3 separate regions of the Homo sapiens genome follow, and regions 2 and 3 are each linked to region 1. Evidence: promoter capture Hi-C in 16 types of primary human blood cells and fetal thymus (Javierre and others, 2016). All regions are on one chromosome and are shown on one strand. The core of a region is centred on a gene start or on the middle of the fragment in contact, and the rest is flanking DNA. Distances in the headings are between cores, read along the strand shown.

Region 1 (4,236 bases), core at 1,207-3,706:
TTTTTCTAGACTATGAACCCTGAAGCCAGGAGCCAAGAGGTACCCTGATAAAGTCTCTGGGTAGTGATTCCACAACAGAGGGCCTGGGCTCCAGTTCCACCTCATAGAGTCCAGCCCACTTGTTCTTTCCCTGGCAGCCAAGGAGCTATGAAGTGGGGCTTCCCAGACTGGCTCTGTGGCTCCATAGGGATGGCAGAAGCATCACTGACCTTATTCCCCAGCTTCAGCCTGGGCAACAGAGCAAGACAATGTTTCAAAAAAAAAAAAAAAAAAATTCTGACAGGTATTAAACCAAAGCTGAAAAATACATGAATAAAATATATTAGACTAGGTTTGGGGATAGAATGTGTGTAAAAAATGGTTCTCGAACTTGAAGAATATACTACTGACTTTTTGGAAAGGAGAAGACATAGATTCTTAAGAATATGGAACTCTGGTTTGAGAGGTACCGAGTTTAAAGTTTTATTCTAAGACAATGTCATTTAGGCCTGGTACAGTGGCTCACACTTATAATCCCAGCACTTTGGGAGGCTGAGATGGGAGGATCCCTTGAGCCCAGGAATTTGAGACCAACTGGGCAACATAGTGAGACCCTGTCTCTGCCAAAAATAAATAGATGTCTTTCAGTTACAAATTACAAAGCTTTATCTTTATAACAGTACAAGGACTTATTTTTAGATATTCACAAAAATAAAAATACAAAATTAAAAATTTCTTGCGGAATTTGCAAACTTCAGATAACACAGATATTGAGTGTTTAGAAAATACAGGATAATTTAAGATTGCTTATTTAGGGTCTTAAAATACCTCAGGGTCATGATATTCAACTCCATTTCTACAAAACTATTCAGCAGCGTAAATATAGGAGAGCTAGATGAATTTCTTTTGATTACACTGCCTGGAAAAGTCTTGAATTATCGTAGACTGAACAAGTGTTTTTTCGTTTGTTTTTCTGGAGACAGGGTCTTGCTTTGTCACCCAGGCTGGACCAAAAAGGTCGAGGCTGCAGTGATTGAGGCTGCAATCGCAGTGGTGCGATCATGGCTCACTTCAGCCTCGAACTCCCGGGCTCAAGTGATCCTCACACCTCAGCCTCCCGAGTAGCTGGGACTACAGGCACACACCACTGCACCTGGCTAATGTTTAAATTTTTTTGTAGAGACAGTGGTCTCATTGTGTTGCCCAGGCTGGTCTTGAACTCCAGGGCTCAAGCGATCCTCCCACCTCAGCCTCCCAAAGTATTGAGATTACAGGTGAGAGCCACCACGCCTGGCTGTGAACAAGTTTTTTGATGGCCTACCATGTGCCTTGCACTCTGCTGCATGCTATGGGGTATAGAGTAAGGCAAGGTCATGACCCTGCGCTCAGAGTTTCTGTTCAAGTGATAAAATATGCAAACGGAAAAATAATAGATACTTAATCTAGTGCAACAAGAGCGAAACTCCGTCTCAAAAATTAAATTAAGTTAAATTAAATAAATAAATAAATACTGCAATGAAGTATGTGAGGAAGTTGCCTCCACCCTAGGAAGGGAAATGATAATTACAATTCCTTACATGTCTAACAGCAGTGTTACAGATTGCAAAGCGCTTTGGTGCTTAGCATCTCAGCTAACCATTGGAACAGTAATTTGGTAGAATGCAGATTATCACACTCACTTGACTGGATGTTACAAATACTAAAAGCTATAAAGCACCAGGCACTCTTCCCAACGAAAGGGTGGGATGGGATAGTTCATAGGTAAACCCACCGAGGGTTGGCGACTAACCTAAAGGATTAACAGCACCGTTTTTGTTTTTTGTTTTTAACACTCAATACGTCCTAGATCCTGTGCTAAGGGATTTACAGACATCATCTAATTTGATTCCCACCTGTCTATGAGGGAGGTACTGTTATTATCCCCATTTCACAGAGGACAAAAGTGAAACACAGAGGTAACGGGTAAGGTCACCTTGCCAGTGGGGGCGAGACGTGAACCTAGGCAAACTGACACAACGCCTGCACTTTCTTGTCCAAGGTCACGGCGGTGTGAGGTAGGCTGGGGAAGGGAGGGCGCTGACCTGTCAGATACTTGTTCCTGGGTGAGCTTCTTGTCGCTCTCCAGCAGGATGGACACGTAGTGGCGGATCATGTCTACGAAGAGTGATAACGATGGGTAGGACCACCCAGAGGCAGATGTTGGAGTCAAGCAACAGTTCTGGCCCTGCCATCTTCACTGAAAGCTGGCTCCCAGCCGGTGATGGGCGAGCTTCTCTTCACCGGGGCGCAGTTGCTTCTCTCTGACGTCGCCTCTGGGCCTTCTCTCGCCCCTATGCCCGGCTAGCACAGAACTCTGCTGCAGCGGTGAGCCCAGCTTATTGCCTTCAGCTGGGCTGCCCGGCCTTCCACTTCCGGCGCGGAAGTTGGCGTCACGTCATGGCGCGCCTCGGTGGCGTCAGAGCGGCGTCGGGCCTGGCGGGAAAGTCGAAAACTACGGGCGGCGACGGCTTCTCGGTGAGTAAGTGGAGCAATGGTCGTAGTCTCTCGAGGCCCCGCTCCCCTGCGGCCTAATCTCTAAGTCCGGGCCGCGGTCGGCGTTCTCCTCTGGGGCTCCGCGCCCCGAACCTTGGCTTCCTCATCTGCCCTGAGATGGGATAATCCCCACAGGTACCTTTCTGCGTCATTAAAATGCGGAAACGAGAAAGGCTTTTACCCTCACCCGCTTCCCGATGAACTAATCCAGGCAGTCGGCCTCATCTCACTTCTGTTGGGCTTTTCTGGAAGCCAGATGGTATCGCACGTGTTAAAGGCGGGTGCCTGGAAGCCGGACGTGCTGACAAGACTTAGTTTTTCCATCTGCAAGATGGCTGATAATGGTTATCCGTATTAACCGAAGCGGCGATAAATAAAAAGTTTAGCACAGGGCCCGGTACCTCGTAAATGTTAACCATTATTAGAAGTCATTATAATCATCAAGAGTAAGTATAGGTGGTGAAGAGCGCAGGTGCTGAAGCCAGACTCCGAGTTAGAATCCCAGTTCTGCCCGTGATGATGAGAATAATGGTACCCACCTCAAAAAGTTTTGTGGGAAATAAATGAATTATTAAATATAAAGCACTTGAAACAGTTCTTGTTAGCTTTTAGCATTTCCCCTGCACTGCGAGCTTTTTTCACTCTGAATATTCTCAGAAATTTTCCTTATGCCGGTAACTATGCTGGGCATTAGGGACATTGAGTAAGTGAGACTGGGTTCCTGCTCTCAAAGAGCCCCAGTCTAGTGTGAGGTAAGGGCCCCTAGGTATACCCTGTGGAGCAGGGAAGCTGCAGTAGCAAACTCCCTTAGGGATAGGAGGAACACTTTTCAAGGAAGATGACATTCGATTGAATGTTTAGATCTGAGTAGGAATTTCCAGGCAAATAAGAGCACTTCAGATGAAAAGAACACCTTTGTGCAAAGGCACTGAGACCACGAAGGTTCTGATTTACAAGATTAAAAGGTCATGTGATTCAGGCACTTCCCCCACCTCTGCTGTCTGATTTCTAACTCCACATCTCCTTGTTTCAGTATGAGTATCTATTTGCCTGGACTCCTCTTCTCCTACCCCTTCTACTGGCTAACTGCTGTTTCAGCCCTCAAGTCCCTGCCTAAAAATCACTTCTTCAGGCCGGGCGCGGTTGGCTCACGCCTGTAATCCCAGCACTTTGGGAGTCCGAGGCGGGCGGATTATGAGGTTATGAGATCAAGACTATCCTGGGTAACACGGTGAAACCCCGTCTCTACTAAAAATACAAAAAATTAGCCGGGCGTGGTGGCGGGCGCCTGTAGTCCCAGCTACTTGGGAAGCTGAGGCAGGAGAATGGTGTGAACCCGGGAGGTGGAGCTTGCAGTGAGCCGAGGCTGCACCACTGCACTCCAGCCTGGGTGACAGAGTGAGACTCCGTCTCAAAAAAAAAAAAAAAAAAAATCACTTCTTTAGGCCGGGCGGCTCACACCTGTAATCCCAGCACTTTGGGAGGCCGAGGTGGGTGGATCACTTGAGGTCAGGAGTTTGAGACCAGCCTAGCCGACATGGTGAAACCCTGTCTCTACTAAAAAAAAAAAAAAAAAAATTCAAGGAGATTGTCCCTAAGAAATGGTCCTTGCTTCTCTTTACCACCCTTACTAGCAACTAGACTAAATTTCCTAGTAAGCCCTCATAGAACCTGTACTTTTATAGCACTTACATAACTGTAGTTCAGTACATTAAGGCTATTTGT
Region 2 (4,236 bases), core at 1,286-3,785, 320 kb before region 1:
CTCACGCCTGTAATCCCAGTACTGTGGGACGCCAAGGCAGGCGGATCAGTTGAGTCCAGGAGTTTGAGACCAGCCTGGGCAACATGGTAAAACCCTATCATGGTGGCATGTGCCTGTAGTCCCAGCTACTTGAGGGGCTGAGGTGGGAGGATGGCTTGAGGCTACAGTGAGCGCTGATTGTGTCACTGCATTCCAGCCTGGGCAATAGAGTGAGACCTTGTCTCAAGAAAAAAAAAAAAAAGGTTAGTGTCCCAGTAAAAGCTCCTGCTCTAGGTGGGAACAGTAGCCTGAGGGCTTAGAGGAATGGTTTAAGGGAAAACAGGGCCAGATATTTGGGGCCTGAACCACAAGGATAGCATGGCCGTAGGACAGACACTGGCCTTGTACAGTCAGAAGAAGCACAAGGACAGGTGGTATGGAGGGAGGGAGGATGAGGATACTGGGTCCTGTCCCAGGGTAATGTCTTTGTTCTTTCTCTTGACCTCCCCATAGGCTTGCAGCCCTGAGTGATCGAGAGACTCGGCTGCAGGAGGTGCGCTCAGCCTTCTTGGCTGCGTACAGCAGCACAGTGGGGCTTCGGGCAGTAGCCCCCAGTCCTTCCGGTGCCATCGGGGGCCTGCTGGAGCAATTTGCCCGTGGTGTTGGACTCCGGAGCATCAGCAGCAATGCCTTGTGAAGAAGCCAGCCCATGACATTTTCCTGCTCCTCTCTCAGCTGAGCCCTTAGCAGAGAATCAAAGCCATGCCTGGCCGAAGGGGTACTTCCAGGTCAGGGGAAATTTCAGTCCCCCATCTCCATCATGAACATGGCAGCCCCAAAGCTGAGCAAGGCCAAAGACAGGGTTTTCCAACCCCCAGCCTCTTGACTGGTGACCACCACCCCTTCTTGTCACTGTCTCCCACCCACCCCATCTTTGCTGGGATTCCCATCAACTCTCAGAACTGTGTGGGGTTTCCCTGGGGCCTTGTGGAAGCCATGACTTCACAAAGACCCTACCTGTCAGTTCTTGTTTCTGGGGAGGAGGGATCACCTGCACTGAGAATGAGGCAGTTTGACACAGATCACAAAATAAAATCAAAGTCTTTTTGAATAGCCACTCTTGTGTCATCATTTGGTTATTGTCTTTGTGGAGCTACTAGGAAGGTTCTCATTGTCCTTCCTTGTGCTGGACAAGGGGTTTTTATGTGGAGGGCAGGTGAAACAGGAAGAGAACTGGCGACAGGTATACCTCTCCACTCATGAGCCATGGTAGTCCCTGCAGTGGGGACAACACTCAAGACTGTTGAGAGTAGTGGTTCTCGGGCCTAAGCAGGTCCTAGTCACCTAGAGAGCCTGATGAGCTGTGCACATTCCCAGGGCTGCCTGAGCTTTAGCCTTAGGGTTGCTAAGGAAGTTGCCTGGGAATTAGGAGCTGGAGGATCTTCATTTTTTTCAGATTTTTTGAGATGGAGTCTCACTGTTACCCAAGCTGGAGTGCAATGGCACAATCTTGGCTCACTGCAACCCCTGCCTCCTGGGTTCAAGCGATCCTCCTGCCTCAGTCTCCTGAGTAGCTACGTGAACGTGCCACCATCCCCAGCTAATTTTTGTATTTAGTAGAGATGGGGTTTCACCATGTTGGCCAGGCCAGTCTCAAACTCCTGAGCTCAAGTGATCTGCCTGCCTTGGCCTCCTAAAGTGCTGGGATTACAGGCATGAGCCACCGTACCTGACCAGGATCTTCATCTTTAACAAGTTCTGTAGGCAGCAGGGTCCTGGTACGGGTGACCTGCATCCCCTACCTTGAGCCCTGCCTATGGAGGAAGGACTGGCTTCTGAAGCTTTGGAGATAGCAATTGGTGTGCATGTGTGGTGGGTGAGAGCCTGGCTGACCACCACCCTCTTCTACAGTGTAACCTACAGTAGATTGCGTCATGAGAGTGTGTCCGCATCTGTAACGCCATGAAAGTCGTGAGGGTTAAAGGCATGGGCAGACAGCTTTGCACGGTGCTCAACAGCCACCATTTACTGTCATCATTGTGAATACCCAGAGGACAAATCATAAATACCAGTGAATGTTTACTGAGCACTTGCTGTGTGCTAAGTGTTTTCCTTGGGTTATCTCAGTAAAATTTTACAGCACCTAAAGTAGCTGCTGTTAAAGGCCTTTCTGACGGCCTTTCACGGTTGAGCCACAGAGATGTTGAGTAACTTGTCCAAGGTCACACAGCTACTAAGAGATGTACTTTTCCTATTCAGAGACCTAGGCAGGCTGGGAGTGGGAAAAGACAGAAACACTAAGGGAGTGGCTCAGTAAGAGGCAACAATTCCAGTGCCCACCAGGTGCCCCAAATGTTTCAGCATCATGGACAACTCTAGGGGGCTTGGGTTTCCACCCCAGAGACTTGCGCAGGGCAGACTCTACCAAGGTGTGGGTTGGAGTTGGGAGTCGGGGTGAGGTTCCCCGCTGGCTCCAGGCTGCTCCAATGGGGCGGGGGCCGCCCGCAGGGCCGGGCGGGGCTGTGCTGCCATCTGGAGCCGCTGCCGCCGGCGGCCACTGTCAGGGCGCGAGCGGCTGGAGCGCACGCAGGGCTGGAGCGAGTGCAGCCGCCGCCGCCGCCGACACCGCGGCACATGGGCCGGCCCCGCCGCTGCCGTCGCCCCTAGCCCCAGCAGCCCTGGTCTCGCAGCCTCCTGCGGCTCTGGTCGCCCGACCAGCCATGTCTCTCGGCGGAGCCTCCGAGCGCAGCGTCCCGGCCACCAAGATTGAAATTACCGTGTCCTGCCGGTGAGCGGGCCGCGCTGGGGAGGGCTTAGGCACTGGCACTGCCCCAGCCCCAGCCAGCCGCGGGGCTCAGCCTGGGCAGGGGCTAGACCCCCGGGGAGAGGCGAAATTGGCTGGAAAATCACAGCTGATGACAGGGCGAGTAGCTGGTGGGATCGAGAAGCGGGGGGTCTTGGGCAGCCCCACCCCGAAAAAAGGGCTCAGCCTGCGGGTTCAGGGGGTGGGTCGCAGATATCCGGTAGGAGCTCGGCCCCAGGAGGACAAAGTTCTGGGGCGAGCCCTCTTTCCTGGGCCCTTGGAGACAGTGTGGGTGCGTTCGCGTCCAGTCCGCAGAGCCATGGTTCCTGGACAGCGATTTCCGGTGCTGTCCAGAGTGCTGACAGAGCGGACCCCGGCTGGGGGTAGCCATGGGGGACAGAGGTTCGATGCGGGCCCCATGCCTCTCCTCAGTGCCCGGCTCAGAGCCGACTCGAGGCGGGCGGACTCCAGGATGATCCACTCTGTCTGTCTGTTGCTTTTCTCTAGGAACCTGCTAGACCTTGATACCTTCTCCAAGTCCGACCCCAGTAGGCGGCTCCAGGACCGGGAGGGGGAACTTGGGGTCTGGGCGCGACTCAGGGGCGGGTGGAGTCGGGGCCAGGGGTGGGAGCCGACCTGACGTCCTTCCCTCCCCGCCCCCACCTGCAGTGGTGGTGCTTTACACGCAGAGCCGGGCCAGCCAGGAGTGGCGGGAGGTGAGTCCCAGAGCCCCCTCCCGGCCCAGGGCGTCGCCCGGGAATTCCCCTGCCCGTCTGCACGTCCCACGCTGACCCTCCACCCCCCTACCCAGTTCGGACGGACCGAGGTGATTGATAACACGCTGAACCCAGACTTCGTGCGCAAATTCGTCCTCGACTATTTCTTTGAGGAAAAGCAAAATCTGCGCTTCGATGTGTGAGGCCCCGCCTGGAATTCTGGCTTGGCCCGCCCCCGACCTGGATCCGCCCGGAATTCTGGCTGGCCCCACCCCCGCCTCGCCTCCGGCCTGGTTCTTCTCGCAGGCCTCCCTCCCATTCTGAATGGCCCCCTCTAGCCTGAGCCCTGCCCTTTTATGAGATGCGGTCCAGTTCCGTCCCCCGCTCTGGCCCCGCCCACAACTCTGCTCCTATCGCAGCTCCACCTCAGGCCCGACCCCTTCCACACAACCCTGCCCCCAGCAGCCCCTGACTTGGCCTCGGCCCAGGCTTGACCGTCTGACTACTCAGCCCACCCTGACTCCTCCCCAAAAGGAGACCAAAGCTGAATTCGGGTCCACGGCCGCCCATCCCTCCACCCAAAATTTTCACCAAGACTCGGTGCCCGACCCCTTTCCACCCTCTCCCCCACCCAGCCCCACCCCACACCGGTTCCACTCTTTTCCCAGGTACAACGTGGACTCCAAAACCAACATCTCCAAACCGGTGAGCAAACGTTTCCTCGAGGGTTGGCGGAGC
Region 3 (4,236 bases), core at 1,023-3,522, 300 kb after region 1:
GAGGGGGTGCATGTGTGCAAGCATCCTTCATTCCTGACAAGAGAAGACCAACGCTAATGTTGGCATTCTTCCATCGCTCCCTGTTCCCTAAGCCAGGCTCCACTGAGAACCCCTCCTGGCTCCGAATGAACATGGAGCATGGTGTGCAAACACAGCTATCCTGATGTCATGGAACGAGGTCACGGACACATGACTGATCAAAGAAGTGGGGAGATGGAAAACTGTGAGAAAGGAAACTCCAAAAAACACCATGTTCCAAGGCTGCCCCATGTTTTACACGTGCAGATCTTTCCTTCCTTGTAGGAGAGCAGTGGGCTGGCTTTGGTGGCGTTTGTACTGGAATCCAATAAGCACATCTGAGGGCTGGTCACCCCTTTGGTTATGCAGTTCCTCTCCTGGATACATTCAGAGATACTTCTTCACGACATTCAGGTGATGCGCTCTTGAAGGTCCTCCTTCCAGGAGGATTTTGCCAGGTGGGATGGGCTGACTTTGAACCCCAAACCCTCAAGTTTTTCCACCGCCATCCAGATGTAGGCCCTCCCAGTTGACTATGGCTCTTTTCCCGAGTGGCTCTCATCTTGTTTGTGGAAGAGTTCTCTGGGCCTGGAGAAGGGAAGGGGCTGGGCTGACACAGCCATCGTGAGGAGGGTCAGCATGAGGAATGGATTTTGCAAGAGAGGCGGAAAGTGTTTGGTTTTCCTCGAAGCATGGGACATCATCGATCATGGTATTCAAAATGTCTTTTGCACTGTACAAGTTTATGGAAAAAAGATCATATGCTGAAAAGTCTCAAAGCAAACTTTGTATTAAATACAAAAGTTCTTTTATGAAAAACGCTGAGACCCACAAAGTGCTTAGCAGTTAAGAGGCTGACATCCAATTAAATAAGCTCTTATTAAGTGGGATTACTAGTGCTGTTGTCTTGGGGAAAAAATAACCACCTTTTCTCACCTGTGATACTGTAGGGTTTCAGAATGGCTTTCTGTTTGGGAAAGCAAGACTTGCTGTTAAAAGGCTACAGTATATATTGTGACTACAGGAAGACAATTTGGTTTAAAATCACACTGAGTACATCTCAATATACACATCATAAGGTTCATTCGGATCTAAATAGTGCAGAGAAAAAGGCTATTCTTCTTCAAAAATAAAAATAAAAGCAGCAAGCCATACTGATCCTCATCCAATATGCCAACAGCTCAGATGCTGCCATTAATAAGGAAACAAACCTGTAAGTTACTAAATAAAAAAAAAAATCAACACAATACCATTTATAATATTTCAACACTACCTCAATCTCTGTACAGACAGTGCCAAAGAGAACCTATTTTTGAAATGCTCTTAGTAAACTCAAGCGAGTTTCATTGAGAGAAAAGTCTTCGAGCAGTGCTTTGCAGATCCTGGCATCCTTGGGCCGGATGGCCGTTAGTGTTGCAAACCCAGGAAGCCTTCTCTCCTCCTCTCCCTTCGTCTACGGAGCATGTTGTTAAACCCCTCAGGATGGCAACTCGGTAGCATTTGGCTTCTGCCTGAGCCTCTCACGGTAGTGACATTATTGAACGGAAATAGCAGGCAAAAATCAGAGCATGGCTATCATAAAACATCCAGGATGCAACCCAGGGGAAGTGTCTGTTGGGCCGAGCTGTTTTTATAGCATCTCAGCCACCAGTGTTCTTAAACCATACAAATAGCCAAAGACGTTATCTACAGGTTTGTAAACAAATTACATTCTTCTTTTAGGACATAAATAAGTTAAAATAGAGCAATTTAAGCGGAAACAAGGCAACATGCCGGCAAAGAAACTTTATATATCCATGTATATATATTTATATATATATATATATATCTACCTATCTATATGGACGTATACAGTCTCGGAAAAGTATACGTTGATATAGATACAAAGAAATGGATATAACCTTGTGAGTGTCTATGAAGTTCTTCGGTTCCATTGGTGCAAATCTACTAGGCGAGTTAAGCTCTGCAATTTCAAAAAGTTATTAAATTAATCTATACAACTGAGACCATGCTGTGCAAGCATTTCAAAAACTCACAGACCAGTGGATTGGATAAATAGTCTCAGAAAAGAGTCTGTTTGCAGTTCCCGCCTAAGAAAACAAACAAACAAACAAAAACCCCTCCCCAACCCCCAAAAACCAAACAAGGGGAGGATTGAAAGTGTACAGTACATTCATGCGGGGGACGTGGTGGCTGGGCGGGTGCATGGCTGGTCCATGTCTGGGTGGGAGCCAGGAAGGGCTTGTTTTGGGAAAACCGCTCACTCCCGTAAGCCCCCAGTGGAGATCCCGCCCCTTGCCTTGAAGTGAAAAAGAGTTCAAACAGCATCGCAGCCAGAGAAAGGGTCTGTGGGTGGAAACGTTGGTTTTCTCTCCAGTATTTGGTTTCCGATTGTTGCTCGTTGCTGCTTGGGTGAGTTGGGTGCCTGGATGGATGGGTGCCCGGAAAGCGGGTGGCAGCGGGGTCCATGAGGGCGGGCGGGCAGGCGAGAGGGTCCTCAGCTAAAGCGACGTCTCCAGGCTGTGGATGGGGCTCCCTGGACTTGAAGAGGTAGCTGATTTGCTTGTGTCGGTCGTCAGGTTGATCCCACTGTCGATGGCGCTGTTGTTCTTGTTGAGGGATGACGGCGGGCTCGAGTTCTGCTTGAGCGCGGCATCTTCTTCCAGGTCGGTGTCATCAATGAGGGGGATGTGGGGCTGGGAATCTTCGATCCGGAATTCAGGATGAGCCATGAAGTTATGGATGGAGGTTCGAGATTCAGGCTTTTCTAAACCTTCATAGAGAGAGCTACGGAACGCCTTCACGACGCGGATCTGCAAGGGAAGCACAGGGGTCAGGAGCACTGCCCAGGGACCACAGCCAGGCTCGGGGGGCTCACAGGAGGGGCGGGTGGGAGAAGGGTTAGGGCAAAGCAGGTGGCTGGAATCCATAGTCGCTGGGTGTTATTAGCATTGACAGGATGGGGGAGAGTGAAAAAGGGGGCTCAGGTTATAGGCATCCTTGAGCTGGTTTTTAAAAATCTCTTTGGTTTTGGTAGAAACTAGTGTTAGGACAGGAGGAATCACCAAGCACCATCAAAGAGATGATGGGGAACAGTGGTTAAAGGAAGCACAGTCGACTCCTGCGGGCACCCACACCTAGTGAGAGACTGAGCCTTGTTCACTTTAAAGCAGAGGTTCAACCATGCAGACAGGGAGGAGGACCAGGTGGGAATCAAGTAGGAAAGAGGAGAGGCTATTAAAAAAATTCATCTTAGGAAAACCACACACAGTTAAGAAACCATACAACATGGAACATGTTACGTGTCACAAACAGAAAAGGCACAGAAAGGAGAGACGGTTGGATGAGTTGGGATGAGAGAGACACATGAGGGCCAAACAGAACGGGAACATCAAACCAAAGGCAGCAAAGCAAACCAAAGCCAACCCAGGGCTTTCTGAGGTGCAGAGCAGAGGCAGCCAGAAAGCACATGGGAGCTGGCGGACAGATGACATTCGGGGGCGGGCTGCATGCCACGGGGAGGCCGGGAGCCACATGGCACACACAGACAGACACACGGCTACACTTGGAAGCCTGGACAATGTGAACGGAGGTCGTTTGTACCCAGCGTTTCTTTCCTTCATGCATTTGGGAGGTAAACACTCGAGTATAGACTCAAAGCCCTGGCCGGCCAGTTATTGGAGCTTGCTTTGGGGTCTCTTATTTCCTGGGGGATTTTGTTTATTTCTTTATTTGTGCTTTGAAAACACAAAACCAAAAAACGAGGCTGGAATCAGATGGCCAAACCCAGCCCCAGTGGGATTCTGGGGTGTGTGGAACTGAGTCACAAAACAGCAAGTTCTTTCATTTTCTGTCTCAGTTGTGAACCACACGTCCTGGGGCCTCAGTTTCCTCCGCTGAAGAATGGGAGGAGGCTGGTCATTGAGTCTTCAAGGCTAGTGGAAAGAGCACTGGACTTGGAGGCAGAAAGACCCAACTTGCATCCTGGCTCTGCCACATCTGGTGCCTTGACTGTGGACAAGCCACACTAGCTCTCTGGTTGTCCTCTGTCCTGCCTCACAGGGTGCAGAGGGACGGGACCCTCACTTGGAAGAGAGGTGTCCCTTCTCTGGACTCCTGGGAGGGGCAGCAGTGCCTGTCATCTCAAGAGTCTGATGGGACTTGGGACAAAGGTGCCTCCTCCTCTCGTCCCAGCCCCAACTCGGAGTGGAGTCAGAG

Evidence for each region. The method cuts DNA at HindIII sites, captures the fragments that hold promoters and counts their contacts. A CHiCAGO score of 5 or more calls a contact.
Region 2: the fragment with the promoter of CPNE9 here is called in contact with the fragment with the promoter of FANCD2 in region 1 in 2 of 17 cell types (monocytes and total CD8 T cells); the score reaches 6.7 in monocytes.
Region 3: a fragment that was not itself captured here is called in contact with the fragment with the promoter of FANCD2 in region 1 in 2 of 17 cell types (activated CD4 T cells and fetal thymus); the score reaches 6.1 in activated CD4 T cells.

What each region holds. Positions count from the first base shown.
Region 1 is chr3:10,023,981-10,028,216 of GRCh38, forward strand. It overlaps FANCD2 (FA complementation group D2), which reads left to right and starts at 2,457. Exons shown (of 44, transcript NM_001018115.3): 1 at 2,457-2,493. It also overlaps the pseudogene CIDECP1. RefSeq lists enhancers at 648-1,284, 1,920-2,555, 2,556-3,190. The HindIII fragment of the contact is 7,543 bases long and covers 641-4,236 here.
Region 2 is chr3:9,701,298-9,705,533 of GRCh38, forward strand. It overlaps CPNE9 (copine family member 9), which reads left to right and starts at 2,536. Exons shown (of 21, transcript NM_153635.3): 1 at 2,536-2,767; 2 at 3,290-3,330; 3 at 3,452-3,498; 4 at 3,594-3,697; 5 at 4,167-4,203. The coding sequence starts at 2,700. It overlaps MTMR14 (myotubularin related protein 14), which reads left to right. Exons shown (of 19, transcript NM_001077525.3): 19 at 493-1,096. The coding sequence ends at 676. RefSeq lists an enhancer at 2,175-3,085. The HindIII fragment of the contact is 18,760 bases long and covers 1,819-4,236 here.
Region 3 is chr3:10,326,295-10,330,530 of GRCh38, forward strand. It overlaps ATP2B2 (ATPase plasma membrane Ca2+ transporting 2), which reads right to left. Exons shown (of 23, transcript NM_001001331.4): 23 at 1-2,831. The coding sequence ends at 2,520. MIR378B (microRNA 378b) reads left to right here and starts at 3,935; the gene lies at 3,935-3,991. RefSeq lists an enhancer at 1,990-2,538. The HindIII fragment of the contact is 4,701 bases long and covers 1-4,236 here.